6 separate regions of the Homo sapiens genome follow, and all the other regions are linked to region 1. The links are contacts of gene promoters, found by promoter capture Hi-C in blood cells and fetal thymus (Javierre and others, 2016). All regions are on one chromosome and are shown on one strand. The core of a region is centred on a gene start or on the middle of the fragment in contact, and the rest is flanking DNA. Distances in the headings are between cores, read along the strand shown. Region 1 holds the start of ETV6 (ETS variant transcription factor 6). Region 2 has its middle 20 kb from the start of BCL2L14. Region 3 has its middle 39 kb from the start of BCL2L14. Region 4 has its middle 73 kb from the start of BCL2L14. Region 5 has its middle 95 kb from the start of BCL2L14. Region 6 has its middle 120 kb from the start of BCL2L14.

What was found. Contacts are between HindIII fragments. The CHiCAGO score rates a contact against its expected background, and 5 or more counts as called.
Region 2: a fragment that was not itself captured here is called in contact with the fragment with the promoter of ETV6 in region 1 in 1 of 17 cell types (non-activated CD4 T cells); the score reaches 5.3 in non-activated CD4 T cells.
Region 3: a fragment that was not itself captured here is called in contact with the fragment with the promoter of ETV6 in region 1 in 15 of 17 cell types (activated CD4 T cells, M2 macrophages, M1 macrophages and 12 more); the score reaches 23.3 in activated CD4 T cells.
Region 4: a fragment that was not itself captured here is called in contact with the fragment with the promoter of ETV6 in region 1 in 2 of 17 cell types (activated CD4 T cells and non-activated CD4 T cells); the score reaches 6.0 in activated CD4 T cells.
Region 5: a contact is called between a fragment that was not itself captured here and the fragment with the promoter of ETV6 in region 1, in 3 of 17 cell types (activated CD4 T cells, monocytes and naive CD8 T cells). The highest score is 6.8, in activated CD4 T cells.
Region 6: a contact is called between a fragment that was not itself captured here and the fragment with the promoter of ETV6 in region 1, in 2 of 17 cell types (activated CD4 T cells and non-activated CD4 T cells). The highest score is 5.8, in activated CD4 T cells.

The regions. Positions count from the first base shown.
Region 1 is chr12:11,647,117-11,651,999 of GRCh38, reverse strand. It overlaps ETV6 (ETS variant transcription factor 6), which reads right to left and starts at 2,326. Exons shown (of 8, transcript NM_001987.5): 1 at 1,840-2,326. The coding sequence starts at 1,872. RefSeq lists silencers at 1,974-2,133, 2,144-2,193, 2,404-2,613, 2,904-3,143 and an enhancer at 3,324-3,423. The HindIII fragment of the contact is 9,207 bases long and covers 1-4,362 here.
Region 2 is chr12:12,048,646-12,053,528 of GRCh38, reverse strand. It overlaps a transcript of BCL2L14 not described here. Among named protein-coding and RNA genes, the nearest start is that of BCL2L14, 20 kb to the left of the region's middle. The HindIII fragment of the contact is 1,396 bases long and covers 1,201-2,596 here.
Region 3 is chr12:12,029,097-12,033,979 of GRCh38, reverse strand. No RefSeq gene overlaps it. Among named protein-coding and RNA genes, the nearest start is that of BCL2L14, 39 kb to the left of the region's middle. RefSeq lists a silencer at 331-625 and enhancers at 1,077-1,176, 1,627-1,676. The HindIII fragment of the contact is 4,828 bases long and covers 1-4,704 here.
Region 4 is chr12:11,995,703-12,000,585 of GRCh38, reverse strand. No RefSeq gene overlaps it. Among named protein-coding and RNA genes, the nearest start is that of BCL2L14, 73 kb to the left of the region's middle. The HindIII fragment of the contact is 3,502 bases long and covers 500-4,001 here.
Region 5 is chr12:11,973,811-11,978,693 of GRCh38, reverse strand. No RefSeq gene overlaps it. Among named protein-coding and RNA genes, the nearest start is that of BCL2L14, 95 kb to the left of the region's middle. The HindIII fragment of the contact is 6,562 bases long and covers 1-4,883 here.
Region 6 is chr12:11,947,450-11,952,332 of GRCh38, reverse strand. No RefSeq gene overlaps it. Among named protein-coding and RNA genes, the nearest start is that of BCL2L14, 120 kb to the left of the region's middle. RefSeq lists an enhancer at 1,725-2,509. The HindIII fragment of the contact is 1,976 bases long and covers 1,412-3,387 here.

The sequences.
Region 1 (4,883 bases), core at 1,077-3,576:
GCAAGGGACTGTTGTACTCTTTTTCCGACTGGAGCACAATGAAACAAACCACTCAGTAGCAGTCTGCAGCCAGCACACCACCATAAGCCCATCAAAACGGTGGGGATGCAGTATAGAAGAGGATCAAGAAACGTCACAGAAAGCATTGTTTTTTGTTGTTTTTGCCCTAAAGTTACTGATCTGTAGTTGGCAGATTTTCCTGATGTCGGGTTTATTGCCACTGAGCCAAATACAATTTATTTATTGAATATCCTACTATTTAGTTACCTCTATGTTATGAAGCGTCAAATAAATTAGATTATCTATACCGCAGGATTTTCCTGAACTCTGTGTAGAATCTAATTTATACCGCAAAAGAAACTGGTTTTGAAGTATTAATATCAAAGTACCCTAAGTTCTTTAGTGTGGCACGCCCCATGCCCACAGACATACATACTGCTACCTCCAGTTATGTACAAACACAAAAGCCTAAAAGTTCCATTAGGCATTTTTGTGAGGCAAAAACAAAGAAGCCCAAACCACCTTTTGATTTCACATTAGCCTATCCTCAAACCCATGAATATCTTTTCTGATAAGAAACACCAAAATGTGATTCTAATTATAAAAAACCTAGTAAGCACGTATGATGAACTACTGCGTTTCCCCTACACAGACTCTAATTGAAAGGCAGTGTTAAACCAGGAAGGGTTTTTCTAACTCCCCACAGACGAAGAAAACAGGTTATTTGTTCATTGTTGCTGTAGTGTCCATTCAGTGAACACACATTAAATAGGCCAAACCAAAAACAAACTTCAGCAGCTTCAGCCTCTCACAAGAGCGGAAGGCTTTCTACCTGGGTACTGGTGGAACAGCGAAATGAATAAAGTGTACAATAAATGCAGCGATGGGAAAAATAACACGGGTAGATGGATAAATCATCCTGCCTCCCAATGGTGGCAAACTTTACAACAACTTTTTAGAAGCAACAAACCGCAGCACCACAGTCTTTACAGATATATAGACATGCATACACACAACTACTGGGTAGCCCAGCAGTGTGTTTACAAACATCTACCGCCCTGCATTTACAGAGTGCTGCTTAGATAGCCTCTCTGCACTGTCAAACACAGAAGGTCATTTTGCCTGGTTGCTTAGTTCTTCCTCTCCCTCCATCACAGGAGTTTTCTACTTTGGGATTGCTCAACTTTCATATGGATCGGAGTAAAATAACTATTCAGCAACTTTATTCACCTTGGTTTTAAAAAAAAATTCATTGTGCAATGCCTAGGAAAAGCTGACACCAGGACTGTCTCTCCGACAGCGCTTGCAATTACAATCAGACGAGGGGGAAAAAAATCCTGTCTGATCAGACCCAGAGAGTCCTTTAAAAAAATAAAAAGATTCTATCGCAGTGGAAACTGAACAACTTTTTTTCTAAGACGACCACCCCTCGGGAACAAAAGTTATATTTCAGTCACATGTTGGGTGTAGGAATAGGGAGCAGGTTTTTTTTTTTTGTTTTTTGTTTTTTTTTTTTTTAAGCGCACTAATTACGGGGGTGTTTTACGGTTCTGGAGACAATCCGGGTTGCTCTGACCAATTGTGACCGGCATTTCATTGTCAAAAAGCAAGGGGGTGGGGGCCGAGGAGCCGGCAGGGGCTCGGCGGTGGGGGGGAGTAGCAAGGTTACGCTAAAGGGTACAGCAGCCACCGCGAGCTGCATCTCTTTCCCTCTCGCCCCAAATAATTTCCTGCGAACAGAGCAACTGCAACAGCCTGCTCTGAGGAGCCCAGCACGACTGCCCTGGCCGGTGCAGCTCAGGGTTTCCACCACGTAGAAGGAGGGGAGAAGATTTTTACCTTAATGCTACACTGAGCAGGAGTCTCAGACATGTCTCACAGCGAGAGAGATCAGGAAGTTCTCAGGTTTTTTCCACTTTCCTTTCCTCTCCCCAACCCAGAAAGGCTCCACGGCCAGCCAGACGCGGTCATTTAAGAAGTTTCTTCCAGCATCTCTCCCGGCAGCCGCCCCGGGGGTCTGGAGCGCGCGGGGCGGGGCGGGGCGGCCGGCGGAGTTGGGCGCGCGGGGCGGCGGGGGCGTGGGAGACGGGCCCGAGCGCGGCGGCGGGGTCTGCAGGTCGCGGCGCGGCGCGGGGACCCGGGACGCAGCCCGGCCGGCCTCCCGGTCTCTCCTCCCACCCGCAGCCGGCGCCCCCGCCCCCCGCCCTCCCGCGGCTCTCCCTCGCTCTCTCGAATGTTTTCCTTCCTGGAAGAGAGAAACTGAAAGGCAGAACTGAGAAAGCTCTTTGCTCATTGATCTTGAGAGTTTCAGTGCAGAAACTGACGTGAATTCCCAGCACTGAGCTCTGCCTCTTAAAGGAGCCACCAGGAAATAAAAGCTCGGGTTACAGCCCGGCATCGGGGAAATAAAAGCTGCGCGGGGGAGGGGCGGCCGCGGGGGCGCGGGCGGAGGAAACCCGGGTAGCGGGGCCGCGTGGGGCCGCGGCTGCGAGCGGGGCGAGCGGCGCAGCCCCCCAGGCCGGCCCCCGGTGCGGGCGCCCGCCCTCCACGCCGCGAGACCTCCCGCTGGCCGAGCCAATTTCCGGGCTTAAGGAAGACACCTTTAAAAAACGTTACATTGTGGCCCCAGACACCACAAAACAGGTTTTATTAAACTCCTCCCACCTCCCCTGGCTCCGTCTCTTGGATACATCGATGTGCACAAGGGTTTTGAAACGTTTCACTAAGCGCAGATGCAACGAAAGTAATTATCTATGAAGGGCCATTCCGGTTAGGACGCGGAATCCGAAGGAGGAAATAAAACAATAGCCTTTGTTCTGCTTCTCGACCGCTGCCTCTTTAAGAGAATCCACCAGGAAATGGGAGATCGGGTTACAGCCTGCACACGGGGAAATGTGGGGAGAGCGGGCGCCCGAGCGCGACGCCGGAGACAAAGCCGGGGCGGCCGCGCCGCAGACGCTGGGGGACCGTCGGGCGGGGGGATTCCCGGGGAAGGTGGGCGCCCCGGAAAGAGGTGGCGCCACGCGCCCGCTCGGGGATGCGGCGGCCGCGGGCGCTTCCCGAGCCGAGCACGCGCTCCGGGAAGGGAAGGCTGCAGGGCAGTTATCAAAGGCAGCTGAGTTCCTTTTCCTGACCTCCCCCTCCTGTTTCGAAATCCACTGCCCTTTTAAAGAAATAGCGGCCGCTACCAACCGAAATAGGTGACTCGACTACAAAGTTGGCAGGACGTGTTCCTGCAGATAATACCCCTCCCCAGGACCGCTTCTCTGAAACCGTCATTGGCCGGTTGATTGGATGGCCCTGGGATCCTGCAGGGGGAGGAATATTTGGTTGGAAAAGCAGTTGAGGGGGGTTAAGGCCGTTGGGGCTGAAGGGTCTAGCCCTGAGCACAAGTGATCTGATCACTCTATTATTTTTATTATTATTTACACTCTCTTAAAGTGTCCACCACAAAAAACTGAGAACATTATCATTATACTTAAATTCTAACCTTGTTAGCACATATTGGGGGTTTAATATGTGGATGTGTAATGTAAAAGGAAATTTGTTATAATTTCTTAATAGAGTAATATATTAAATATGGTATAAATATGTATATACGCATATATACCCATATATGTTACCTGCACTGGACCAGGACACATTTCCCCGAGTCTCCCCACCCTACAGATTTTTCCTACCCACTTTCCTTCACCTCTTCACATTATCAAATGTGTTGAGACTTGTACACACAATATTTTTGTTCACACATTGATCAGATCATTACGAACGAGGCTAGGGTGGGAAAGAGTGCTGTTGCTGGGATGATGGGAACTGGTGGTTGTGAGCCTCCAGGAACCTGAACAGGTTTTGTCAACTGGTAGTCCTGCCCTCTCTCCAAGAGATCTCTGTCTTGTCCACACCGACTCCTCTGCCTTTGACCACCCCCTTCTCCCCTTTAACAATTTTCTGTATTCTTTTGCTTTTTTTTTTTTTTTTTTAAGACGGAGTCTGCTATGTCGCCCAGGCTGGAGTGCAGTGGTACGATATCGGCTCACTGGAAGCTCCGCCTCCCGGGTTCACGTCATTCTCCTGCTTCAGCCTCCCGAGTAGCTGGGACTACAGGTGCCCGCCACCGCGCCCGGCTAATCTTTTTTGTATTTTTAGTAGAGACGGGGTTTCACCGTGGTCTCAATCTCCTGACCTCGTGATCCACCCACTTCGGCCTCCCAAATTGCTGGGATTACAGGCGTGAGCCACCGCGCCCGGCCTCTTTTGCTTTTCTTAATTGATGTTGCAGACATTGGTTTAGATGTCCCATTGCTAGGTTATGTCTTCCACATCACTTAGCAATGTGATCCCTGACAACACAGTCACTAAGCTTCTGTAAAATGGGGAGAAATAGTACCTAGCTCATAAGATTATCTTATTAAATAAGAAAATATATACAAATGCCTCCTTAGCAGAGAGCTGCACAATATATGTGCTCAATTCAAGTTGGCTACAATTATTATTTAACCCCAGGACTAAATTAGTTCTCGACTTTTCTTCCTAACTCCTCCTCAACGTCTACAAGTGATTCATAGAAGTAGTAGTTTGAAGTAGAATGTTTGTGGTTCCAAAGCAAAAAACATAGTTGACAACTGTAGCAAAAACTACATTTAGACCAGGGGTTGCCAATCTCTGTAAAGGGCCCAGCTGTAAATGCCTTAGTCTTTGTGGGCCAAGAGACAAAATTGAGAATGTCAGGTAGATACTTATATAACACGAAGAAAAAAAAGTCCACAGTTTTTTATTTTGTCAATTCAAAGTGTAATAATAGCAATTTTAATACAGGTATAATAATGAAAGGCATGGAATTCTTTTGGGGGGAAAGTAACATTTCACTTGGTGTTCAAAGTGTT
Region 2 (4,883 bases), core at 649-3,148, 400 kb before region 1:
GAATTGCTTGAACCCGGGAGGTGGAGGTTGCAGTGAGCTGAGATTGCGCCATTGCACTCCAGCCTGGGCAACAAGAGTGAAACTTCGTCTCAAAAAAAAAAAAAAGAAGAAGAAGAAGTTATAGGGCCATTGTAACCTTGTCCTGGTATAGATTGTGTCCCCTGAGCTGAGTTCAGCCCTGCCCTTGTGTTTTTCGAGGAAGAAAAGCAGGGAGTGAGACTACTTGCCTTCAAATCCCAGCTCTGCTATTAGATTAGCCCTATGGACTTGGGCAAGTTATTTAACCTTTCTGTGCCTCAGCTTTCTAATTTGTAAAATGAGAATAATAAAAATTCTATCTATCTCACAGGGCTGTTATGAGGATTCAGTAGGATGTAAATGTAAATATGTAAGGTGTTTCCAAAGGTGTTTGGCTCACCCACATGCTAGAGAAATGGTGGTGGTGGTGCTGGTGGTACCATCATCATTGTCATTCTAAGGACACTGTCCATGTCCCCAAGGGACCTGATCAGAATGGTGATGGGTGCTGCATCAGTGAAACAAGAATACTGAATTCATGAACCGTCTTGCTCTTCTACTACCCCTGCCCCAAACACACACCTCACTCCCTTGATATGGGCAGGCTTCTCACTTTTAGGCTTTGGCCTAAGTTGGAATGCTCAGACGTATACTCCTTTTGGTCTCTATCACTAAACTTTAGAAATTATCTCGTTCAGGGCTCTTATTTTAGGTATGCTCAAGGTCAGACAGAAGCTAAGAAACCAAGGTCCTGATACAGCAATCCCACTTCTGGGTATTTATCCAAAGGCATTGAAATCAGTATGTTGAAGAGACACCTGAACTCCCATGTTCATTGCAACACGATTTACCATAGCCAAGATATGGAATCAATCTAGGTGTCCATCAACAGATGAATGAATAAAGAAAATGTGGTATATATGCACAATAGAATACTACTCAGCCTTAAACAGGGGTGAAATCCTGTGATTTGGGACAACATGGATGAATCTGGAGGACACTACGCTAAGTGAAATAAGCCAGGCACAGAAAGACAAATATTGCACGATCTCACTCATAGGTAGGATCTGAGAAAGTTGATCTCATAGAAGTAGAGAGTACAATGGTGGTTACCAGGGACTGGGGGTGGAGCGGTGGTTGGGAAAAGGCTACACAGTTTCAGTTAGACAAGAGGAATAAGCTTTACTAATCAATTGCACAGCATGGTAACTATAATAAGTAATAATGCATTGTATATTTCAAAATTGCTAAAAGTAGATCTTAAATGTTTTTACTGCAAAAAATTGGTAAGTTTGTGAGGTGATGGATTTACTAATTAGCCTGATTTAATCATTCCACATTGTAAACCTATATCAAAACATCAAATTGTACTCCATAAACATGTATTATTACTACTTGTTAATGAAAAATAAAAATAAAACGAAAAACAAAGGAAGAAGAAAAAAACCTCAAAAAAGAAAAAGAAAACAAGGTCCTCAGCCGTGTCCTATTTTCTTTGCACTCACCACCCACGTCCTTCTCACATCTGATTGTTGAAGTCTTTCCAACTCCAACTCAATTCCACTTCTTCTTAGAACCTTTCCAGATCCTCCAAGGTAAGCTGGGCTACTCTTTCCCCATGCCTATATGATTGTAAGTTGTGTGTAGCTATTACAGTACTTACGGTCTTTGTTTTAGTGTCCATCACCTATGCCTCTTGTCTTCACCCTGTTTGCCTAAAGAGCAAGGAGATAATATTCGCTTTAGGGTCCCACTTGGCACAAGCATGGTGCTTTGCATATATTAGACTATCATGAAGTGCTCATTGAATTGGGTATTAAGATTGTATAATGTGGACTATTTATCTTAGAAGAGAGAAGATTTAGGAGGAATGGAATTGACTCTCATGGAAAGATTCGATTCAGCTACCTAGTGCTAAAGAGCAGAATGGGGACCAGGGGCTGAAAGTTACCAGGGGGTAAATTTGATCTGGCTGTGTGGGGCGGATTCTTCCCAGTGACAATCATTTAATGAGGAGATGGGTGCCTCATGAGAGGCGAGTTAAGGTATTCAAGCAGAGGCAGGATGGCCACTGTCAGGAGTGGAGTAGAGGGGAACCCTCGGGATTCCCTGTTTATTAGCTGAGTTTCAACATCACTAGAAACCTCGGTGATGTTTTAGGTTCCCATGTAGCTACAGACTACAGCAGACGCATGGGGTACCTGATGTGCAAACAGGGTTGAGACAGGCCTAGCACTGCCCAGTAGACCTGAGTCTGGCTTAGGTTCATTCTTGACTCTTGCTAGTCTAGTCTGCAAGAAGCTGAACTCACGAAAAGCCAGCTCCTTTTCCCACCATCTCTATTTATTAACCCCTCCCTCACTCTTATACACCCTGCTCACTGCTGTCTGGTGCCCCTACAAGGTCAATTTCACGCTGAACTTTACTACAGTGAAAAGTCCTGAGTTTCATCTAAAAGCATTTGAGGTGTCTTAAGTTAAATTCTAAAACCTTTCAGTTTAGCTTCAGTTTATGGTGCTATTCAATCCTTATCGAGCACTTCCGCCAAAAGGTCCTAAATCTCTCTCTTATGCAAGCTTCCACGGGCTGCATGAGGCCCAGGATGGCTTTGAATGTGGCTCAACACAAATTTGTAAACTTTCTTAAAACATTATGAGATTTATGCACGGCCATTCTTTTTTCTTTTCTTTTCTTTTCTTTTTTTTTTTTTTTTTTTTAGCTCATCAGCTATTAGTGTTAGTGTGTTTTATGTGTGGCCCAAGACAATTCTTCTTCCAGTGTGGCCCAGGGAAGCCAAAAGATTGGACACCCCTGTAAATAGGCTCTTAGACTCGAAGCTATAGTTTCTGTAGTTCTTCTGCCTATTCTATTTCCTTCTCAAATTACGGGTCGCACTGTTCCTTTTCAATTTGGGTTCCAGGTCTACTCCTATAAGCTTCTGGCTAAAACCTTTCTGTTTTTGCAGACTCCTCACTAATAAGTGTCCCCCTTGGCATTTTGCTCTTAGGATCTGGTTTTCCATATTTTTGAGGCTCTTTGTTTCTTCTTTTCTTTTCTTTTCTTTTTTTTTTTTTTTTTGAGATGGTGTCTCCCTCTGTCGCCCAGGTTGGAGTGCAGTGGCGCAATCTAGGCTCACTGCAAGCTCCGCCTCTCGGGTTCACGCCATTCTCCTGCCTCAGCCTCCCGAGTAGCTGGGACTACATGCGCCCGCCACCACGCCCAGCTAATTGAGGCTCTTTCAAGACTCCTGTCCAGCCTTTGCATGCCAGGGCATTAGTCGTGGCCTCCTATTGAACCCCACCTCCTCCCAAGTCCATCTAGGTCTCTTTACATCACAGTTTTGCTCCCTACCCTTGGCCCTGAGTGTTTCTGCCACCTGGCCTCATTCCTAAGGTTCTTGCTCAGGGAGGTCAGTAGACTATCTGCCATATATCAGCCTGATAAACGGATTGTCTCCCAAGCATCTTCCTTCACACATTAAATTTTAGGAAATATCAAACTTAAGAGTGGACTCTATTTCAAAAGCACATTTATAAGAAACTTATGTAGCACTCACATTTCCCCCTTACAATAACGTTCTTCTAGGTGGTTAGTTCTGCCAGGCGAGTCCAGGGGAGCCCATTTAGCCTCTAGGATGAAGCGAAAGCACTGGGACCTTAGAATCTTTGGGAGTAATAATAGTGGGATAGAATAAGACTGCAGTGTAGAACGGTGTTTCTACGGGAAACTATTTCTAGAATTCCGCCTTGGATTGCTGGGATTCCTTTTTTTTTTTTTTTTTTTTTTTTTAGATGGAGTCTCGCTCTGTCGCCCAGGCTGGAGTGCATTGGCGCGGTCTCGGCTCACTACAACCTCTGCCTCCCGGGTTCAAGCGATTCTCTTGCTTCAGCCTCCTGAGTAGCTGGGGCTACAGGCGCTCGCCACCAGGTCCGGCTAATTTTTGTATTTTTAGTAGAGATGGGTTTTCACCATGTTGCCAGGTTGGTCTCAAAACTCCTGACCTCGTGATGCACCCGCCTCGGCCTCCCAAAGTGTTGGGATTACAGGCGTGAGCCATCGCGCCTGGTGCTGCGATTCCTTTAGCTGTCTGCAGTGAGACTGGGCAGCCCCTACCCCCATATTAAAAGAAAAGAAAAAACACATCCTGCAATTTATTGAGGAATCACCGCATACCGGGCAGTGTAAACTCATTATCAGTCATGTCGCTTCATCCTCACATCAACGCTGTGAGGTGGGCACTGCTGATACCCATGTTTTACTAATGAAGATACGGAGGCAAAGAGACTGCTCTCAGTGGCTTTGGACAGGGATTCTCATAACATAAAGTCTGGGTGCGTGCTAGGAAAGGAACAAGGACTCTAGAAAACTGTAAAGGTGAGAAGAGAGTCAGAGATGGGGCAGAAGATGGAATAAAGATTGGGGCAGAGGCAGCCTGGCGCAGGGTAGGACATTTGTAGACGTTATAGAGAGTTGACCCTTGAACAAGACGGATTTGAACTGCACAGGTTCACTTATACACAGGTTTTTTCCAGTACAAGCTACACTGAGTGTGTCTGCCTCTCCTGCCTTCCCTTTTACTTCCTCCGCCTCTTCTGCCTCTGCCACCCAGAGACAGCAAGAATAACCCCTCCGCTTCCTCCTCCGCACCCTACTCAGTGTGAAGACAATAAGGATGAAAACCTTCATGAAACTCCACTTGCACTTAACGAAGAGGAAATATTTTTCTTCCTCATGATTTTCTTAATAGTATTTTCTTTTCTTTGGCTTACTTTATTGTAAGAATACATTATATAATTCATACACGAAATATGAGTTAACTGACTATGTTATCAGCAAGGTTTCCCAGTCAACTGTAGGCTCTTGGT
Region 3 (4,883 bases), core at 1,041-3,540, 380 kb before region 1:
CACCTGGGTCCTTCATGTCTATCAAATATCACCTTGGAAACAGGCTTTTAGTCAGGATGTTGTAGTGTCAAGGGCAACTGAAGTCTCCTCTACACTAGGACCCCAGGAATCTAAGGGAGAAGGTATTTCCGACCATTTATTATGATTTATAATTTCAGCCAGAAATTTTTCTTCTGCTTCCTTTCTCAATTAGGGAAATGTGTGCTTTAGAAGATTTTAAATGCTTGGTTACTTAAGAGAGAAAGAAAACTCTGTTGCTTGTTCATATTATTTGTGTTTTTTTCCATGCAAAGACAGGAGGTTTTCAGCCAAGGCAAATCAGAGTGGCTGACATTCCCACGGGAAAGTGGGCCGGGCGTGAGAACAGGATGTGTACCTGTCTGGAAGCTGGAGCCTTTGATGTACATCCACAAGAGCCCCAGAAGGAAGCTGTTTTGATAAGCTGTGGTCACCAGGTGGCGCTACACACACGCTGTCAAGTCCAACAGTTTTTCAGACCTGCAGGATTTTTCCAGATTTACCGAAGCAGGAAAAAACAGGAAAAACAAAACGGGTCCAGTACTTCAGCTCAGAATAGTTGAGTTGAAAAGAGGTGGAAAACCCCCCAGACAGCTTGCCCTCTTCAATCGTGTGGCAGAGCATCCACTTGGTGCCCTTCGGATTCTTTGAGTAAATGTGGAGCTGGCTGGCTCCTCAAGGGAGTGTGGAATCAGGACGTGGCTGGTTCCGGCTGCAAGAAAGTCCCGGTTATTCTGCGAGGGCGAAAGAGCTCCAGCGTTAGGGCTTCAGCAGAGGCGGTTGCTAAGGCGCACCAGTCCTTTACTTCGGACCAGTCTGACCTTAACGGGAAAGGCAATTTCCCTTTCTGTATGGGGAACTCATTTCCTTTGTTGCTTTCCTTATTTTCCTCCCAGGGTCTTTTAATTCCATCCTGATTGGGGCCTGAGAGGAGGGCATGGGTGAGGTGTGAACCAGCAGCGCCCTTTCTTCCTTCTCGCTCCGCCCCCAGGCAACACCCTCCAGCACCCAAGCCTACCCTCTTCCTCCAACGGAAAAATGCACACGGCATATCCGTGTCTGTCCACATGCCGGATTTCCCGGCCAGTTCTGATGTGAAATATCTTGAAAGTTTGCTAAGGGGCCACTTTATATTAAAAGAGGATTAAAAAATAAAGAAAATCCCATACCTCCAATCTGAAAGTCTTTTCTTGGTGCCATAAAAAAACTGAGCTATCAGCCCTCTGGTACCTTCGATTCCAGGCCAAAGGCCACTGCCTGGTGGTGACGGCCAACGTGGAGGCACCCAGGCCAGCTCCCACGGCATCTCTGCCGACAAGCAGTGACTCCAGCAGATTGTAGTAGCACCTACACAGCCAGAGCTACACCCAGGTGCTTGCTTTGCTGCAGTTTGGGAGGGATCAATGTTCCAGAGCAGCGGCTCACCAACCTTAGCATGGCTCAGTTGCTGGGCTCCACTCCCAGAGTTTTTGGGTGAATGCGTCCAGGGTGCGGCTGGGAAATTTGCATTTTTAAGAATTTCCCCCTGAGGCTGATGCTACAGTCTGGAGACCACACTTTGAGAACCACTATTTCAGAGTAAAATGCTGGTGGGAGGAAAGGAGCAGCAGGAAACAGCCGATGACTGTGGTGTGGCCGGTCTTTCTCCCAGGCGGGGTGGGGTGTGTGTGCCAGGATTGCAGGGTCACCAGGAGGGCCGGTTCTGTGGGGGCTGCTGAAAATCCTTATCCCTCCTTTCTAGACTAGTGGTTCTGAGACTTGGCAGCACATTGGAATCACTTTGGGAGCTTAAAAAAAGATACTGATGACTGGCTTCTAGCCCCAGACGTCCTGATTTAATTGGTTCACAATGTGGTTTGGGCCCTGGAAGATTTAAAAGCTCGCTAGGTGTTTCTGATGTGTAGCCCAGGTCGAAAAATCACGGTGCTAGGTCCACGTCTTACTGCATTCTTATATCCAGTCCCCAGTAAGTGTAAGTTCTCACCACCCATTCTCAAACCCTTCCAGCTGTCTCTCATACCTCCCTGCCTCAGGCTGAAAAACACTGGCACCTGTCTGAGTACTGACTTCCTATTTATCCTTCAAGACGCAGGCCAAATATTTTTTCCGTGGTGGAGATTTTTCTGGCTTTCCCTAACAGTTCATCTCCTAAAGCACTGTGGATACACTAGAACTATAACCTTTATCTTTCACTTCATCGCAATTACATTCACGTGCTGAATGTAATGATGTTTCAGTCAAAAACCGACTGTATGTATGAAGGTGGTCCCATAAGATTATAATGGGGCTGAAAAATTCCTATCACCTAGTGACGCTGTAGCCATTGTCATGTTGTAGCTCAATTACTTTATTTTAAAAATAAACAGTGTAGCCTAAGTGTACTGTGTTTATAAAGTCTACAGTAGTGGACAATAATATCCCAGTCCTTCACATTCACTCACCACTCACTCACTGACTCACCGAGAGTAACTTCGAGTTCTGCAACAGCCATTTTGGTAAGTGCCCTATACAGGTGTACCATTTTTAATCTTTTTTTTTTTTTTTTTTTTGAGATGGAGTCTCGCTCTGTCGCCCAGGCTGGAGTACAGTGGCCCAGTCTTGGCTCACTGCAAGCTCCGCCTCCCGGGTTCATGCCATTCTCCTGCCTTAGCCTCTTGAGTAGCTGGGACTACAGGCGCCTGCCACCATGCCCGGCTAATTTTTTGTATTTTCAGTAGAGACGGGGTTTCACTGTGTTAGCCAGGATGGTCTCGATCTCCTGACCTCGTGATCCGCCCACCTTGGCCTCCCAAAGTGCTGGGATTACAGGCATGAGCCACCACGCCCAGCCCATTTTTAATCTTTTATACTGTACCTTTTTCACGTGAGGTTTGTTTAGATACCCAAATACCATTGTGTTACAAGTGGCTATGATATTCAGTACAGTTACTTGCTGTACAGGTTTGTAGCCAAGGAGCAATGGGCTATACACCGTAGCCTGTTTGTGTTGTAGGCTGTAGGCTGTACCATCTAGGATTCTGTGAGTGCACTCTATCATGTTCACACAACAAAACTGCCTAATGATGCATTTCCCAGATGTATCCCTGTCGTAAAGCCCTGACTGTATTTCTGTTCATATCTTCCCTCCCTGCTTGATGGTTAATAAAAGTTGGTGATTGAATGAATTCCATAGTTGGAGATAATGTTAAAATGCACAGGTTCTCTTTTTTGTTTTGTTTTTTTTTTTATTGGAGACAGGGTCTCACTCTTTTGCCCAGGCTGGAGTGCAGTGTTGCAATCATGGCTCACTGCAGCCTCGACTTCCTAGACTGAAGAGATCCTCCCACCTCAGCCTCCTTAGTAGCTGGGACCACAGGCGTGCACCACCACTCCTGGCTAATTTTTGTAGTTCTGTAGAGATGGGCCTTCACCATGTTGCCCAGGCTGGTCTCGAACTCCTGGGCTCAAGCAATCTGCCTGCCGTGGCCTCCCAAAGTGTTGGAATTACAGGCCTGAGCCACTATGCTCGGCTATTGCACAAGTTCTGGATAAGGAAGTTTATTAATATCAGTTCTGTACAATGAACCTAGTGCCTCCAGTGGGGTCAGACTTGGGTGGGTGCTGGAGAAGCAAAGTTGAGTGAGCAGTGCACACTGCCCCTGAGGAATGAATTCCTCTGCAGGCTGAGCTCTCTGAGGCTCCTTGTGCTTTCATCATGACATTTAGCTTGGGAACTGCTTTCAGAGATACTGACCTGGAGCACAGAGGAGCCTGGGTCTCCTTTTCATCATGCTCTTCTGTGGCTCTCACCACCCACAGGATTAAGTAGGTTTCTTTGCATGTCTTTCATAAACTTGCGCTTGTCTGCCTCTCCCAAATATTTAATTCCTTGACCCTGTTTGATGCTTGGATCCTAGTTCCTTGCACACACCATGCTATTGCCAACTTATACCTTTCTATTCCCCTGAGATGATCTTCTCACCTTTGCTAGTCCGGGTAACTGCCAAGGCTTGTGGGCCTTCCTGACCCCCCAGGCTGAGTGCCTTCTCCTGTATTATATTCTCTTAGGATTTTATACATACCTCTATCATTATGTGGAAATAATCCAAACTAGTTTTTTTATGAGCCTGGCACACAGTAGGTGCTTTATAAGTGTTGAACTGAGATGAATGCTTACAGAGTGATTCTCAAACTTTATTCTACCTATGCATCATTCACATGCAAAACACACTCCCACACTTTATATCGTGCATGAGACATAGTGTTTCTTCATCCAGGGTAATGGGTTTAGAATAGGTAGGCACATCCTTCCAGGGGAATCAGGATATGAGTGGGAGGTAGGCTGGGACTAGTTAGAAATACCCTCCTTTTGCCACCTAGATTCTAATGTGTGTCTTGTTCTCAAGTTGAGAGCTGCTGAATTACTATAGGCCAGGTGGTGAGCTAGGCACTTTTAAAATTATTTCTAGAATGTTCACATTAGTCTTGCTAGGTGGTTATTATTATCCTCATTTTATGGATGATGAAACTGAGGTTAAAGGATTTGTGCAAAGCCACATAGCTGGTGTGCTAGGCCATTCTTGCACTGCTACAAAGAAATACCGGAGACTGAGTAATTTATAAGAAAAGAGGTATTATTGGTTCATGGTTCTGCAGGCTATACAGGAAGCATAGCAGCATCTGCTTCTGGGGAGGCCTAAGGAAGCTTCCAATCGTGGTGGAGTGCAAAGTCGAAGCAGGCATATCACGTGGCAAAACAGGAGCAAGGGAGGGGGAGGTGCCAGACACTTTGAAACGACCAGATCTCATGAGAATGAACTCACTTTCGTAAGGACAGCATCCTGGGGTTGGGGCTAAACCATTAATGAGAAATCCACTCCCGTGGG
Region 4 (4,883 bases), core at 1,001-3,500, 350 kb before region 1:
ATGATATTCATGTCCTCATTTTCGTGGTATAGTATGAATTTTATGTTAGCTTCATTGATGCCAGTATTTGGTGTCATCAGCAAGAAATTTAAATCTTTTCCTATGTATTTTTATGATTCACTCATTGGATTATCAAATAATCCAATAATTTATTACTTAACATGATTTCTATTTGAAATGTGTCCCTTCTCTTTCTCTTAATGAATCACTTCTTGCCTTTGGTATAATCTAATTTTCTTATTGTAATTTGCTTCTTGATGTTAGAATAATATCTATTGATTTTATTATTCGTCTTTATTGCTTTTATTTTACATTTCATTATTTTTTAATCTGAATGTTCTCATAGTTCTTTGATAAATTTATTAAACTTTAATCAGAAGGTCATAACTCCTCATTTGATTTATTAAAACATCCAAAACATTTTTGGGTATTGGAAGGAGGGAAGGAACAGGTCGGATTAGGATCTTAACCCAGCACAAAGGTTGAGCCAGAGAAAGCTTGCTGCATTGGAGCCAGGATGGCCTGGGGAGACCAGGCAAGGGTAGGCAGAAGCCGGGGGTGTTACTTTATGAAGATTTGAAGAAGGGGAGAGACAGCTAATTTGGTTGGAATTGCTGTAACTTCATCAAACCCACCCAAGGAAAAGGAGTATCAGGATGGGAAACTCAAGAAGAGGATGGTCAGGCCAGAACTGGAGCAAGGTAGAGTCTCCTTAGAAAATAACAAGGAAGACCAGCCTGGGCGACACGGCAAAACCTCATCTCTACAAAAAAATACAAAAATTGGCCGGGCATGGTGGCTCATGCCTGTAATCCTAGCACTTTGGAAGGCTGAGGCTGGCAGATCACTTGAGGCCAGGAGTTTGAGACCAGCCTGGCCAACATGGTAAAACCCCATCTCTCCTAAAAAAAAAAAAAAAAAAAAAATACAAAAAATTAGCCAGGTGTGGTGGCATGTGCCTGTAGTCCCAGCTTCTTGGGAGGCTGAGGCATGAGGATCGCTTGAACTCGGGAGGCAGAGGTTGCAGTGAGCCAAGATAGCACCACTGTACTCCAGCCTGGGCAACAGAGTGAGACTCTGTCTCAAAAAAACCCCTACAAAAATTAGCTGGACATGATGGTGCAGGCCTGTAGTCCCAGCTACATGAGAGGCTGAGGCAGGAGGATCACTTCAGCCTGGGAGGTCGAGGCTACAGTGAGCTGTGATTGAGCCACTGCACTCCAGCCTGTGCAATACAGCAAGACCCTGTCTAAAAACAAAAAAAGTAACAAGGATACTTTAGAGAAGAAAAGAAGCAAATCATGGAAAAGGCCTGGCTGGTCGGGAAGCCATGCAGGAACACTAGTGCCCCAGGCAGACAGTTAGGCTAGAGCATATTCAAGGTGGGAAGAAGCACCAGGATTCCTCCAAAAGTCAGGGGGCTGGCTGCATTGCAGTCAGTGTGTCTTGGTGGTGACTGGTGAGTTCTCCTCAGGCAGCCCCAGGTTGGAGAAGATGCCTTCCTTCCCCAGGGGACCATGACTAATAGGGGATCCTAAATTCTCCCCTAAGGCAAATCAGCTGGAATTTTCCCAAGCAGATAGAAATATTTTGAAAAGAGGCAACATTGATTGAATTTTGGAGCCAGAAGGACCTGGGTTTGCATTTATCAGAGGCATTCAAACCAGAACGACTCCATCTTGAATAGGAGCTGGGTATAATAAGGCTGAGACGTACTGGGCTGCAATCCCAGAAGGTTAGGCATTCTTAGTCACAGGATGAGACAGGAGGTTGGCACAAGACACAGGTTACAAACACCTTGCTGATAAAAACAGGATGTGGTAAAGAAGCCAGCCAAACCCCACCAAAACCAAGATGGCGATGAGAGTGATCTCTGGTCGCCCTCACTGCTCATTATACACTAATTATGATGCATTAGCATGCTAAAAGACACTCCCACCAGTGCCATGACTATTTACACATGCCATGGCAATGTCGGGAAGTTGCCATATATGGTCTAAAAAGGGGAGAAAGCCTCAGTTCTAGGAATCACCCACCCCTTTTCCAGAAAACTTATGAATAATCCACCCCTTGTTTAGCATATAATCAAGAAATAGTTATACGTATAATCAGTTGGGCAGCCCACACTGCTGCTCTGCCTATGGAGTAGTCATTCTTTTATTCCTTTACTTTCTTTTTTTTTTGAGATGGAGTCTTGCTCTGACTCCCAGGCTGGAGTGCAATGGTGCGATCTCAGCTCACTGCAACCTCCACCTCCTAAGTTCAAGCAATTCTCCTGCCTCAGCCTCCTGAGTAGCTGGGATTACAGGACTGTGTCACCATGCCTGGCTAATTTTTGTATTTTTAGCAGAGGCGGGGTTTCACCATGTTGGCCAGGCTGGTCTCAAACTCCTGACCTCAGGTGATCCACCCACCTCGGCCTCCCAAAGTGCTGGGATTATAGGCGTGAGCCAGTATTCCTTTACTTTCTTAATAAACTTGCTTTCACTTTACTTTATGGATTCACTTAGAATTCTTGTGCGAGATACAAGAACATTCTCTTGGGGTCTGGATCTAGACCCCTTTCTGGTAACACTTTTTAACTATGCAACCTCTTACCAGCTGTTGTCCTTAGCTAAGATCCTCAATGTCTAGATATCTAACTCCCACCTCTGCAAAAATGGGGATAATAGTGTACACTTTTTTGGGCAGACAGTACATAAATCTTACAAAATAATATGAAGAACATAAGAAATTCCATAGTTATGTAATTCAGAATAGATGTGGATGTTAAAAGTGTTATGGATTTTTTAAATGTCAGATTTATTTGTCATAATTTTGCTGTATTTTTGTTACTTTTGTTCTTATTTTCCAAATAAAGAAAATAAAGGTTGACTTAGACAGATCTCAGAATTCTCAATTTCTACCTTGGCCTGTTTGCTTGACTGCCAATGCTGTGTGTGTTTTACACACACACACACACACACACACACACACACGATGGATATCATCAAGAAATAGCACCAGAATCTTTGAACTAATTTCAGAGTTTAAAGCAGAAAATATCAGAGTTCTGATCCTCCCAACGTTTTTTTGTTCAGTACTTTAAAATAGATATATTTTTGTGATATTGTGAAATATGTGTATATATATAATATCCTTTATAACGAAAAAAAAAATATATATATATTTTGAGACAGGGTCTGGCTCTGTTGCTCAGGCTAGAGTGCGGTGGCATGATCTCAGCTCACTGCAACCTCCACCTCCTGGGCTCAAGCGATTCTCCTACCTCAGCCTTCTGAATAGTTGGGACTACAGACGCATGCCACCACAACTGCCTAATTGTTGTATTTTTTATAGAGATAGGGTTTTGCCATGTTGCCCAGGCTAGTCTCTTGCTGGGATTACAGGCGTAAGCCACTGCACTCGGCCTATATTTGGTTTTATACCAGATTCCTGGCGTACAACTTCTAAAATCCTTAGAATTTTTATTTTTATTTTTATTTTTTTTAATTTTGAGATGGAGTCTTGCTAGGTCACCAGGCTGGAGTACAGTGGCGCAATCTCGGCTCACTGCAACCTCTGCGTCCCAGGTTCAAGTGATTCTCCTGCCTCAGCCTTCCAAGTAGCTGCGACTACAGGCATGTGCCACCACACCCAGCTAATTTTTGTATTTTTAGTAGAGATAGGGTTTCACCATGTTGGTCAGAATGGTTTCGATCTCTTGACCTCGTGATCCACCCACATTGGCCTCCCAAAGTGCTGGGATTACAGGCGTGAGCCACCACGCCTGGCCCAAATCCTTAGAATTTTTAAAGTGATGTCTTTTTGTATGCTACCGATTGACTGGTGGCTGGCAGCTCCAGGATGAAGGCTGGTCACCACAAAGACTGAGGCAGCATTAGCATTAGAGGGTGGGACTTTCCTTCCCATGCCCCAACCTCAGGGAGGGGGAGTGGCTGAAGGTTAAGTTGATCACCAATGGCCAGTGGTTTAATCAATCATGCCGACCTAATTAAGCTTCCATAAAAACCCAAAATTCCTGGTTTGGAGAGTTCTGGATAGCTGAACACATGGAGGTTGCTGGAGGGTGGCATGCTGGGGAGGGCATGGAAGCTCCGTGCCTCTTCCCATACTTCTCCCTGTGCATCTCTTCATCTGTATCCTCTGTAATATCCTTTATAACGAACCAGCAAATGTAAGTAGGTTTCCCTGAGTTCTGCGAGCTGCTCTAGCAAGTTAATGGAACCCAAAGAGAGGGTTGTGGAAACTCCAACTTGAAGCTGTCAGAAGTCCGGGGGACCCGAACTTGTGACTGGTGTCTGAAGTGGGGGGACAGTCTGTGGGACTGAGTTCTCATTTTGTGGGATTGTCAGAGGTGTTTGAACTAGAGCAACTCCATCTTGAATAGGGGCTGGGTAAAATAAGGCTGAGACCTCCTGGGCTGCATTCCCAGTAAATTAGGCATTCTCAGTCACAGGATGAGCTAGGAGGTCGCCACAAGACACAGGTGATGAAGACTTGCTCATAAAACAGGTTGCAATAAAAAAGGCCAAAAACCACCAAAACCAAGATGGCAAAGAGATTGACCTCTGGTTGTCCTCACTGCTACACTCCCGCCAGAGCCATGGCAGTTTAGGAATGCCATGGCAACGTCAGGAACTTATCCTATATGGTCTAAAAAGGGGAGGCATGAATAATCCACCCCGTGTTTAGCATATCATCAAGAACTAACAGTAAAAATGGGCAGCCAGCAGCCCTTGGGGCTGCTCTGCCTATGGAGTAGCCATTGTTTCATTCTTTTACCTTTTTTTTTTGAGACGGAGTCTCGCTCTGTCCCCAGCCTGGAGTGCAGTGGCGCGATCTCGGCTCACTGCAAGCTCCGCCTCCCGGGTTCACTCCAT
Region 5 (4,883 bases), core at 620-3,119, 330 kb before region 1:
GGCCTTGACACAAAGCACACCCAGAAGGCAGCATGGATGGAGCTAGAAGCCAGAGCTGCAAGACTCCGGATCCCCCACTGCCTGCCTTTCTTGCCTTCTTCCTTCCTTCCTTCCTTCCTTCCTCTCTCTCTCCCTCCCTCCCCCCCCCTCTGTCTCTCTTTCTTTCTTTCTTTCTTTCTTTCTTTCTTTCTTTCTTTCTTTCTTTCTTTCTTTCTTTCTTTTCTTTCTTTCTTTCTGATGGAGCCTTGCTCTGTCGCCCACTGGCTCACTGCAATCTTTGTTTCATGGGTTCAAGTGATTCTCCTGCCTCAACCTTCCAAGTAGCTGGGATTACAGGCACACACCATCACACCTGGCTAATTTTTGTATTTTTAGTATAGACGGGGTTTCGCCATGTTGGCCAGGCTGGTCTTGAACTCCTGACCCCAGGTGATCCGCCCACCTTGGCCTCCCAAAGTGCTTGGATTACAGGCTTGAGACACTGCGCCTGGCCCCCTGACCATGTTTCAATTGCACCTGTGGATTTCCACCTTCCACCTTTTCTATGCAGGATAGTCTCTGAAAGCAAATTTACTTATGGGCTAATTTATAAAATCAAAGATTTTTAAAAACTATGAAAGTAGTAAGTTGTCAGTATAGGCAGATTGGAATATAGAGAAAAGTGCAAATAAGTAAACAAAATCACTCATGATCCCACAACCCAGACTTAATCACTGCTGGTGTTTTTGTTTTTGTTTTTTTTTTTTTTTTTTGAGATGGAGTCTCACTCTGTCGCCCAGGCTGGAGTGCAGTGGCGCGATCTCGGCTCACTGCAAGCTCCACCTCCTGAGTTCATGCCATTCTCCTGCCTCAGCCTCCTGAGTAGCTGGGACTACAGGCGCCCGCCACCACGCCCGGCTAATTTTTTGTATTTTTAGTAGAGATGGGGTTTCACCGTGTTAGCCAGGATACTCTCGATGTCCTGACCTTGTGATCTGCCCGCCTCGGCCTCCCAAAGTGCTGGGATTACAGGAGTGAGCCACCGCGCTCGGCCTACACTGCTGGTGTGTTTTTATATTACCCGAGCTCACAAAGAATTTGGTGTTTGACATACAAGCCATTTCTTTTGAGAATTTGTGAATTTTTTTTTTTCTTTTCAGCTTGTGTCACCCAGGCTGGAGTGCTGCGGCTCGATTGTAGCTCACTGCAGCCTCGACCTCCCAAGCTCAAGCGATCCTCCCAGTAGCCTCCGAAGTAGCTGGGACTACAGGTGTGCACCATCACACCTGGACAATTTTTAATTTTTATTTTTAGTAGAGATGAGGTCTCACTACATTGCTTAGGCTGAAAATCTTTTTTTTCATATTCTTTGAAACCACTTATCTTTAATCACTGAAAAATAACTCACCAGGATCTATTTTACTTTTCCAATATTGATGGCTATTTATTTTTCCTTCAATTTTTGCTATCTTAAATCATGCTGCAGTGAGAATTCTTTCCTTAGGATTCCTTCTGGAAGGGGAACAGGAGTCCTCATGTTTGATAGTGAATGGGCGTATCACCTACTGCTGTTAATGTATAAGTTAGTATTAGGTTGGTGCAAAAGTAATTGCCATACTGGCAAAAACCGTAATAACTTTTGCACCAACTTAATAAAACATTTTTGATTAGCACTATGAAGACCACTAGTTTCACACCTTTTAGTATAAAATTATTTATATGTTAAGAAATAATTGAATCTGATAAGACAAATCTGTGCTCGAAAGTTTCTTTTTTCTTTTTTCTTTTTTTTCGAGACAGAATCTTGCTCTGTCACACAGGCTGGAGTGCAGTGGGATGATCTTGGCTCACTGTAACCTCTGCCTCCCAGGCTGAAGGGATCCTTTCACCTTAGCCTCCCAAGTAGCTGGGACCACAGGTGTGCACCACCACGCCCGACTATTTTTTTCTATTTTTAGTAGAGACAGGGTCTCGCTGTGTTGCCCAGGCTGGTCTCAAATGCATGAGCTCAAGCGATCTGCCAGCCTCCCAAAGTGCAGAGATTACAGGCATGTGTCACCATGCCTGGCCTCTATGCTCAAAATTTGCTTTGCAACATTTAAAAAAAAGTGAAAGATTGAAAAGATAAAAGCCCTGGCTTAGGAAAATTCTTAAATAAATTATGGTTTATTCTTCTGATTGAAAGTAATATTTATGAGAGTTTGAAATGATAATGAAAAATGTTGATTTTAAGTGTAAAATATAGATACAAAAGTGTATGTATTGCATGAGCTTGAATATATGGAACAATGTGCTGAGGAGGGACCTCTGACAAATATTAGTACTTATCTTTGCATGGCAAGATTAAATGATTCCTGCCCGCGCCATTCTCTGCATTTTTATACTATCTTAAATATGTTATTTTTATAATTGGGGGAAGAGTTGTGTTATTCACGTATCACAGATGGGGTCACTTCCAGGGAAGGAGATGTGGCTGGTCTGTGTGGGTTCCTTTTCCTTCCTATCAGGAAGCATTCTAAGCATGGTCAAAGTCATATGCTAGTGCTCTGTCCTCTTTAAACAAGATAGTGCCTTATTATTTTGTTCAGCTTAACACAATCTACACTCCAGCTTGGTTTTCCTGAGTATATTTTCCCTTAATTCCATTTTTCTAGCTTTCAGACACTTTGACGCTTTCTCCCAAGTGAATGAAAGCCCAAATGTTGGGTCTAACTCCCAACGTTTTCTCTTAATTTTGCTTCTGTTTCAAATCTCGGGGAATGTTATTTTTTCAGTTGTGCATATATGCATACACACATCTATCAACATTGATGAGTTGTAATTCACATACCATACAATTCACCCACTTAAAATGTACAACGCAATTGTTTTTAGTATTTTCCCAGAGCCATATAGCCGTCATGGCAATCATTTTTAGGACATTTTCATCACCCCCCGAAGACATCCTGCACCCATTAGCAGTGACTCCCTGTTTCTTCCCACCCCACCCTACGCAAGCCAACTCGCTAATCTACTTTCTTGTCTCTATAATTTGCCTACTCTGATATCATAGAAATTGAGTCATACAATATGCAGCTTTTGTGACTGGCGTCTTTGACTTAGCAAAGTGTTTTCTAGGTTCATCTTTGTTGTAGCTTGTATCAGTATTTCATTCCTTTTTATGGCCAAATCATATTCTACTGTATAGATTTACCATTTTGTCTGTTCATCAGTTGACAGACATTTGGATTGCTTTTGGTCTTTGGCTGTTATGAATAATGCTGCTATAAACATTGTATAGAAGTTTTTGTGTGGATATATGTTTTCATTTCTCCTGAGTATATACCCAGGAATAGAATTGCTGGTTCATATGATAACTTTAGGTTTAACCTTTTAAGAAATTGCCAGACTGTTTTCCAAAGTGGCTGTACTATTTCATATTCCGCCAGCGGCATATTGAAGATTTGAATTTCTCCACATTTTTACCAACATTTGTTATTATCTTTCTTTCTGATTATAGTTGTCTAGTGGGTATGAAGTGATATCTCATTGTGGTTTTGAGTTACATTTTTCTGATAGTTAATAATGATGAACACCTCTTCACGTGTTTACTGGCCATTTTTATATGTTTTTTGGAGAAAGGTCTATTCAGATTCTTTGCCTATGTTTTAATTCTTTGTCTCTATTATTGAGTTGTAGGAGTTCTTTGTATATTCCAGATACAAGTCCCTTATCGGGTATATGATTTGCAAATATTCTTTCTCATTGTACGAGGTGTCTTTTCACTTTCTTGATGGTGTCCATTAAAGCACAATAGTTTTTAATTAGAAGTCTGATTTATCTATCTTTTTTCCTTTTCTCATTTGTATTTTTGGTATCTTTTCTAAGAAGGCCTTTTCTAACCCAAGGTGGTGAAGATTTACTCCTATATTTTCTTCTGAAAAGTGTTACAGTTTTTGCTCTCACAGTTAGGTCTCTGATCTATTTTGACTTAGTTTTTGTGTGTAGTGTGAGGATGGGACTGCTATGGACTTAATTGTATCTCCCCCAAATTCACATGTTGAAGTCCTAACAACTCCCAGTGTGACTGTATCAGGAGATAGGGTCTTTAGGAGGTAATTATGGCTAGATGAGCTCCCAAGGGTGGAGCCTATTCAGATAGGACTGTGGCTTTGTATGAAGGGGAAGATCTTTCTCTCTCTGCCTCTCTCTCTCCCTCCCTCTCTGCCATGTGCGCACATAGTGAGAAGGCGGCCATCTGCAAGCCAGGAACCCTACAATGCTGGCCCCCTGATTTTGGACTTCCAGCCTCCAGAACTGTTAGACAATAAAGTCTATGCTTTAAGCCCCAGAGTCTATGGTATTTTGTGATGGCAGCCCAAGCTGACTGACACAGGGACCCAACTCCATTCTCTTGCATGTGGCTATCCAGTTGTTCCAGCATCATTTGCTGAAAAAAACAGTTCTTTCCTATTGAGCTGTTTTGGCTCCAGTTACAGTTAAACTAGTCCAGAACTGAGAACAGACTCTGTTGAAATCACCTGTGAGCAGAGGAGAAACAGGGAAAAAATAGTGCCACTCCTTTCCCCAATTTGTAAGTAGATTAGGACATTGTAGAATTTTGATCTGAAATTTTGTTCATGGTAAGCATGAACTTTTCAATCTCCCTTTCTTTGCCAGTATTTGAGATAGTACCTCAGGACCTTGCATCTGTTTTCCTGGCAAGATAATCAAGCAATGTCAGGCACAAATAGTTTAGCCCCTTATTAAAGTTGTCCTAGTGTTCTGGAGTGTAGCTGGCGCTACTGTGAGGAGGAAAGGAGCAGGGTGAAGGGGTGTTTGAAAGAGGACATGTGTATCAGTAGGTACATATTTAGTAACAATTTCACTTATAAACCTATGGATTTTTACAGAAATCTGAATCC
Region 6 (4,883 bases), core at 1,150-3,649, 300 kb before region 1:
TGGAAGGAATTATTATAGTGAATTTGATTGTTCTTAAGAGATAAATAAGCTTCAGATCCTGGCTCTATGCATTAGAAGTCTTGGGACCTTGAGCTAGTTACTTAAATCCCTCTGAACCTCAGTTTCTCTTTTCTTTCTTTTTTTTTTTTTTTTTGAGACGGGGTTTTGCTCTGTCACTGAGGCTGGATTGCAGTGGCCTTGACCTCCTGGGCTCAATGATCCTCCTGCCTCAGTCTCCCGAGTAGCAGGGACTACAGGTGCACAACACCACGCCTGGCTAATTTTGAAATATTTTTAGAGATGGATTCATGCTATGTTACCCAGGCTAGCCTTGAACTCCTGGCCTTAAGTGATCCTCCCACCTAGGTCTTCCAAAAACACTGAGATTATAAATATGAGCCACCGTGCCTGGCCTGAACCTTATTTTTATTCTGTGTAAAATGAGGAACACAGGAGTGTTGTATGGATTAAAAAAGATTATGTACCTTGAGTGCTTAGCTCAAGGTACTTTAATATTATTAACTTTTAATAATAATATTAAAGGTTAAATTTAAATAACAACAATTTAAAGTGAATCACTATGAAATAGAAATATGGTATCAGTTGTTCAAAATAAAGGCAGTAAAAAGGAGGATGCTAACCCCAATCAATTACAAGGAAGGTAAGATGGAAAAAAGAGAAAAAGCAGGGTTAAGGACAGCAGGAAAAATGGATGGAAGTAACAAATAAAAAATGTTTTACATTGAAGATTTTTGGTTCCCATCATAAACTCGAATCACATGGACTGCATGGCCGATCACTACAGAGGAAGAGCAGGGGAAGAGCAAGCCACAGCCTCCTCCTTATATGTTTGGGGAGCCAGGGCATTCTTGCCATTTATCTCTCGGGTGTGTCCAGGTTCTCTTGCACATGACATGCTCTCAAAAGGTTGGGCATAATAGTCTTTCCTGTGCATGGTCACACCTCACAGTATAATTTCGTGGGTGTATGAATTCCATAGACACTCTCCCATCAAAATAATTATCATTTAGTGGTCCATTTTTTGAGTGGACTGTCTTATTAACACACCCGGGAAGTATCAAATGGTATTTGATAACTAAAGGAATTTGTTTACCTTGCACAATGTATTTAAGTTAGTGAAATTCCACTGTTGATTTCATTTGGTCCAACCCCAACACCACTGATTTTCTTCTCCACTGTTTCTGTATCCTCATTCACTCAACCCGTCCCAACTCTTAAGCTGTTTGAACCCAGTTACCTTTAATTCTGACTTCTGAGTTATAATTACTTGCATTTGCTGTCTGCCTTCATAATTATTAAATATTCTCAACATTATCTTGTTTAATCCTCAGAAGATGAGCCAATGATTAAACAGTATCATCCCCATTTTATAGAGGCAGAAAGGGAAGCTTGTGCAGGTTAAGTGAGTTTGCACAAGATTACAGCCAAAAAGGAGCCAAGCCATTTGACAAGGGTGTTCTCATTTCTGACTTTTTCCATTATGCTCCAGCTGTCCCCTCTTATCTCATCAAAGTCATCCTCATCAGCTACTATATAAGGGCATTTGCCTAGTAAGTCTTCATCTATTTCTCTTTATTTCTGTTCCTCCTGGTTTTCACTCCTAGCTTTCCCTGACTGTTCCAGCCATTTGCACTCCCAAGACCAGCTTTAGCCGATTTACCTTATTACATCCCAAAAAGGAAGAAGCCTTGGTGATTGGGTCTGGTTGTCCACCTATTTTCCCAGCTTTTAACCCAGACATCTTTGCCATGATCATGACTATTATTTCAGAACTTGGAGGACACTCTTCAATTACCTGCATTTCCTCTGGCAGAGCTGACAGACCATCCGTATGGGTAGAGTGCTCTTTGCCTCAATTGTAATAAAAATTTTAATTATTCATCAGTACAGTAGCTGTTAGACAAATGCCCAATTATTATTCATCCATAGCTAAGTAACCTTCTGCTCTTTTTTGGAACAGTGACAAGCGCAGCCCTGCCAGAACTGGCAGAGGGCACAGATCAAAGAGTGCTTTGTGCCTTGCTTTTACCAGGAAAGAGAAGGAGAGCCAGAGCTTCCTGCTGGTGCCCCGGCCTCCTCCCTCACCTGTCCCCCAATGCAGCTCCCTCCAAGCCCAACAGCCCCGAGTCAGGAAAGCTGGGAGCAGGGGAGACTTGGAGTCCCCGCCAGCAGGCTGCAGCTGTGGGGCACTGGGCACGGCCAGGTCACCTGGCAGAGGCTCTGGGTGGAACAGCTGCAGGGGGCTTGTTGCCAAAGAAGTGACAAAATTGCAAACGAGGGTTTGGAGAGTGGCTTTTGCTTAGACATACACTGTGGCTGATTTTCCTTCACAATAGGTGGCACCTCCCTGCCCTTCCCCTGCAGGCCCAGGTGACCAGGCCAGCAAAGTCGTGAAGGAGGACGTCTCCTCAGGTGGCAGCCCTTCCCTCCCTGCTTCTGGTTTCTCCTTCCAGTGACTCTTCCTTGTGAAGCTCCTCCTCCGGCTCACCAAAGCATCAGAACCTTTAGGCTGACCCAGATCTCAGGGATGGGGGCTTTTCCTGGCTGGACAGCTTTCCTAGTTTCCACTGTGCTACCTTTTCCTCTCAAAACGTAGCAGGAGGCAGCTCTTGGCCAGAGAGACTCATGCCCTCTGCCTACTCTCCAGAAAGCCTTTCTGCACATTCTAAGAGGCACCCAGGCTTTGCCATATCCCCTCTCATCTTCCATCCTGAGACCTTGTGGAACTTGCTGCCGGCGGCTTCCACATGGAACCTCAGCCCTTCCCCAGAATGGGTCTCCCACAGGGCAGCCCCTTCTGGCTGCTGCAGACCCCAGGGGTCTGTGCCTGTGGGACCCTCACACCACTACACTCAGCCTATCCAAACCACTCTGCTGCCACCTCCTTGTCCTTTCTGCAACACACCTTTCTCCCGAGGAGCACCCCCGTGTCACTTTCTCACCTCAGGGTTCCCATCCTCCCTTTCTCGGTCATGTCACCTCCCTCCCCTTTAACCTGCCATGGCTTTCCACCTTCAGCTGTAAAAGCTGAAGTCTTTACAATGCGCCTACGTGGTTGGCCCCCCAGTTACACTCCAACGAATACAAATTCTACTTTCCTCCTCCTCCCTCTCTCTTCGGCAGCTCCACAGGTAAAACCTGATCCTGCCTCAGGGTGTTTGCACTTGCTGCTCTCAGACTTGAAAACTCTTCACACAGATATTCACTGTCTTACTCCTTCATCTTCCATGTTCATTCTATACAGAGTAATGCCCAGCCGCTCCTCACCCCACCAACCTAATCTTTTTATGGCCTTGTTACCTCAATATATCATTTATTTATTTTTTGTTTATTGTCCACCTCCCTCTAGTAGAAGCTAAGTAAGCTTCATGAGAATAGAGACTTTGTTTTTGTTCACAGATAGTGGAGTGCTGTGGACTGAGTTGTGTCCCTCCCCTCCCCAATCATGCATTGAAGCCCACTGAGGAGCTCCTCAGCTGGCACCACCATTTCTGACAATTCCAGAGCTGACTGCCTGGGAAGAAACAGAGGCACCCAGGGCCTCTTGGCCTCTCGGTGTCTCTTCAAAGTCAAAGAATATTTGTGGTGGGAACGAGATGACGGGGAGTCAGAAGGATGGGAGCTGTGGTCACAGCATGAAGCACAGGGGTCCAAGAGTTCTGGGGGGAGGCTCAGGCTGGAGATAACAAGTTGGGTTGCCCAATGTGATGGTGTTTGGAGAGGGGGTCTTTAGGAGGTGATTAGGTTCAGATGAGGTCGTAAGAGTAGGACCCTCATGGTGGGATTAGTGTCCTTATAAGAAGAGACACCAGAGAGCTCATATGTGCTCTCTCTCTCTGCCCCGACCTCAGGCGAGGACACAGTGAGAAGGTGGCCATCACCAGACCCCAGCCATGCTGGCTGACACCCTGATCTCCGACTTCCAGACTCCAGAACTGATATGGTTTGGGTCTGTCTCCCCACCCAAATCTCATGTAGAATTGCAATTCCCAGTGTTGGAGGTGGGCCTGGTGGGAGGTGACTAGATCATAGGGGCGGGTTCTCATGAATGGTTTAACACCACCACCCCCCCCACTTGGTACTCTCTTTGGGATAGTGAGGGAGTTCTCGTCAGATCTGGTTGTTTAAAAGTGTGCAGCACCTCCTCCTCCCTCTCTCTCTTGCTCCTGCTCCCTCCATGTGGGACCTGTCGCTCCTGCTTTGCCTTCCAGCATGGTTGGAAGCTTCCTAAAGCCTCCCCAGAAGCAGAAGCCGCTATGCTTCCTGTACAGCCTGCAGAACTGTGAGCCAATTAAACCTCTTTCCTTTATAAATTACCCAGTCTCAGGTATTCCTTTAAAGCAGTGCGAGAATGGACTCTTACAAGAACTATGAAAAATAAATTCCTATTGTTTAAGCCATGGTATTTCGTTCTGGCAGCCTGAGCCAACTAAGACATGGAGGTTCATTATTGGTTTAAATAAATAAATATTTGCTTAAATGAACAAATTGATGTTCCAGGTAGCAAGGGGCCAGGAGAGGAAAGCTAGACTGTTGTGGTTGTCGCTTGTTTGCTCCCATGGCTACTCTGCCCCTGTGTGAAGTCGTCCGAGGCTATTACCACCTGGCTCTACCTCCTCTCATTGTCACCTACTGTTTCCTTGTGATTCTCTCACTGAGGCTTCATTCTTCATTTTCTTCCACTCAATTTTTAATACCCCTATAGATGATCTGCCTCTCAAACTGCTTCCTCAGTTTCAAGATCTTATCACCACTGCACTCCACCCTCCCACAGGACTTGCTATCCCACGCTGAGGATCCCCCCAGAAGTCTTACACCCCGTGCTTCATGCTGTGACCACAGCACCCATCCTTCTGACTCCC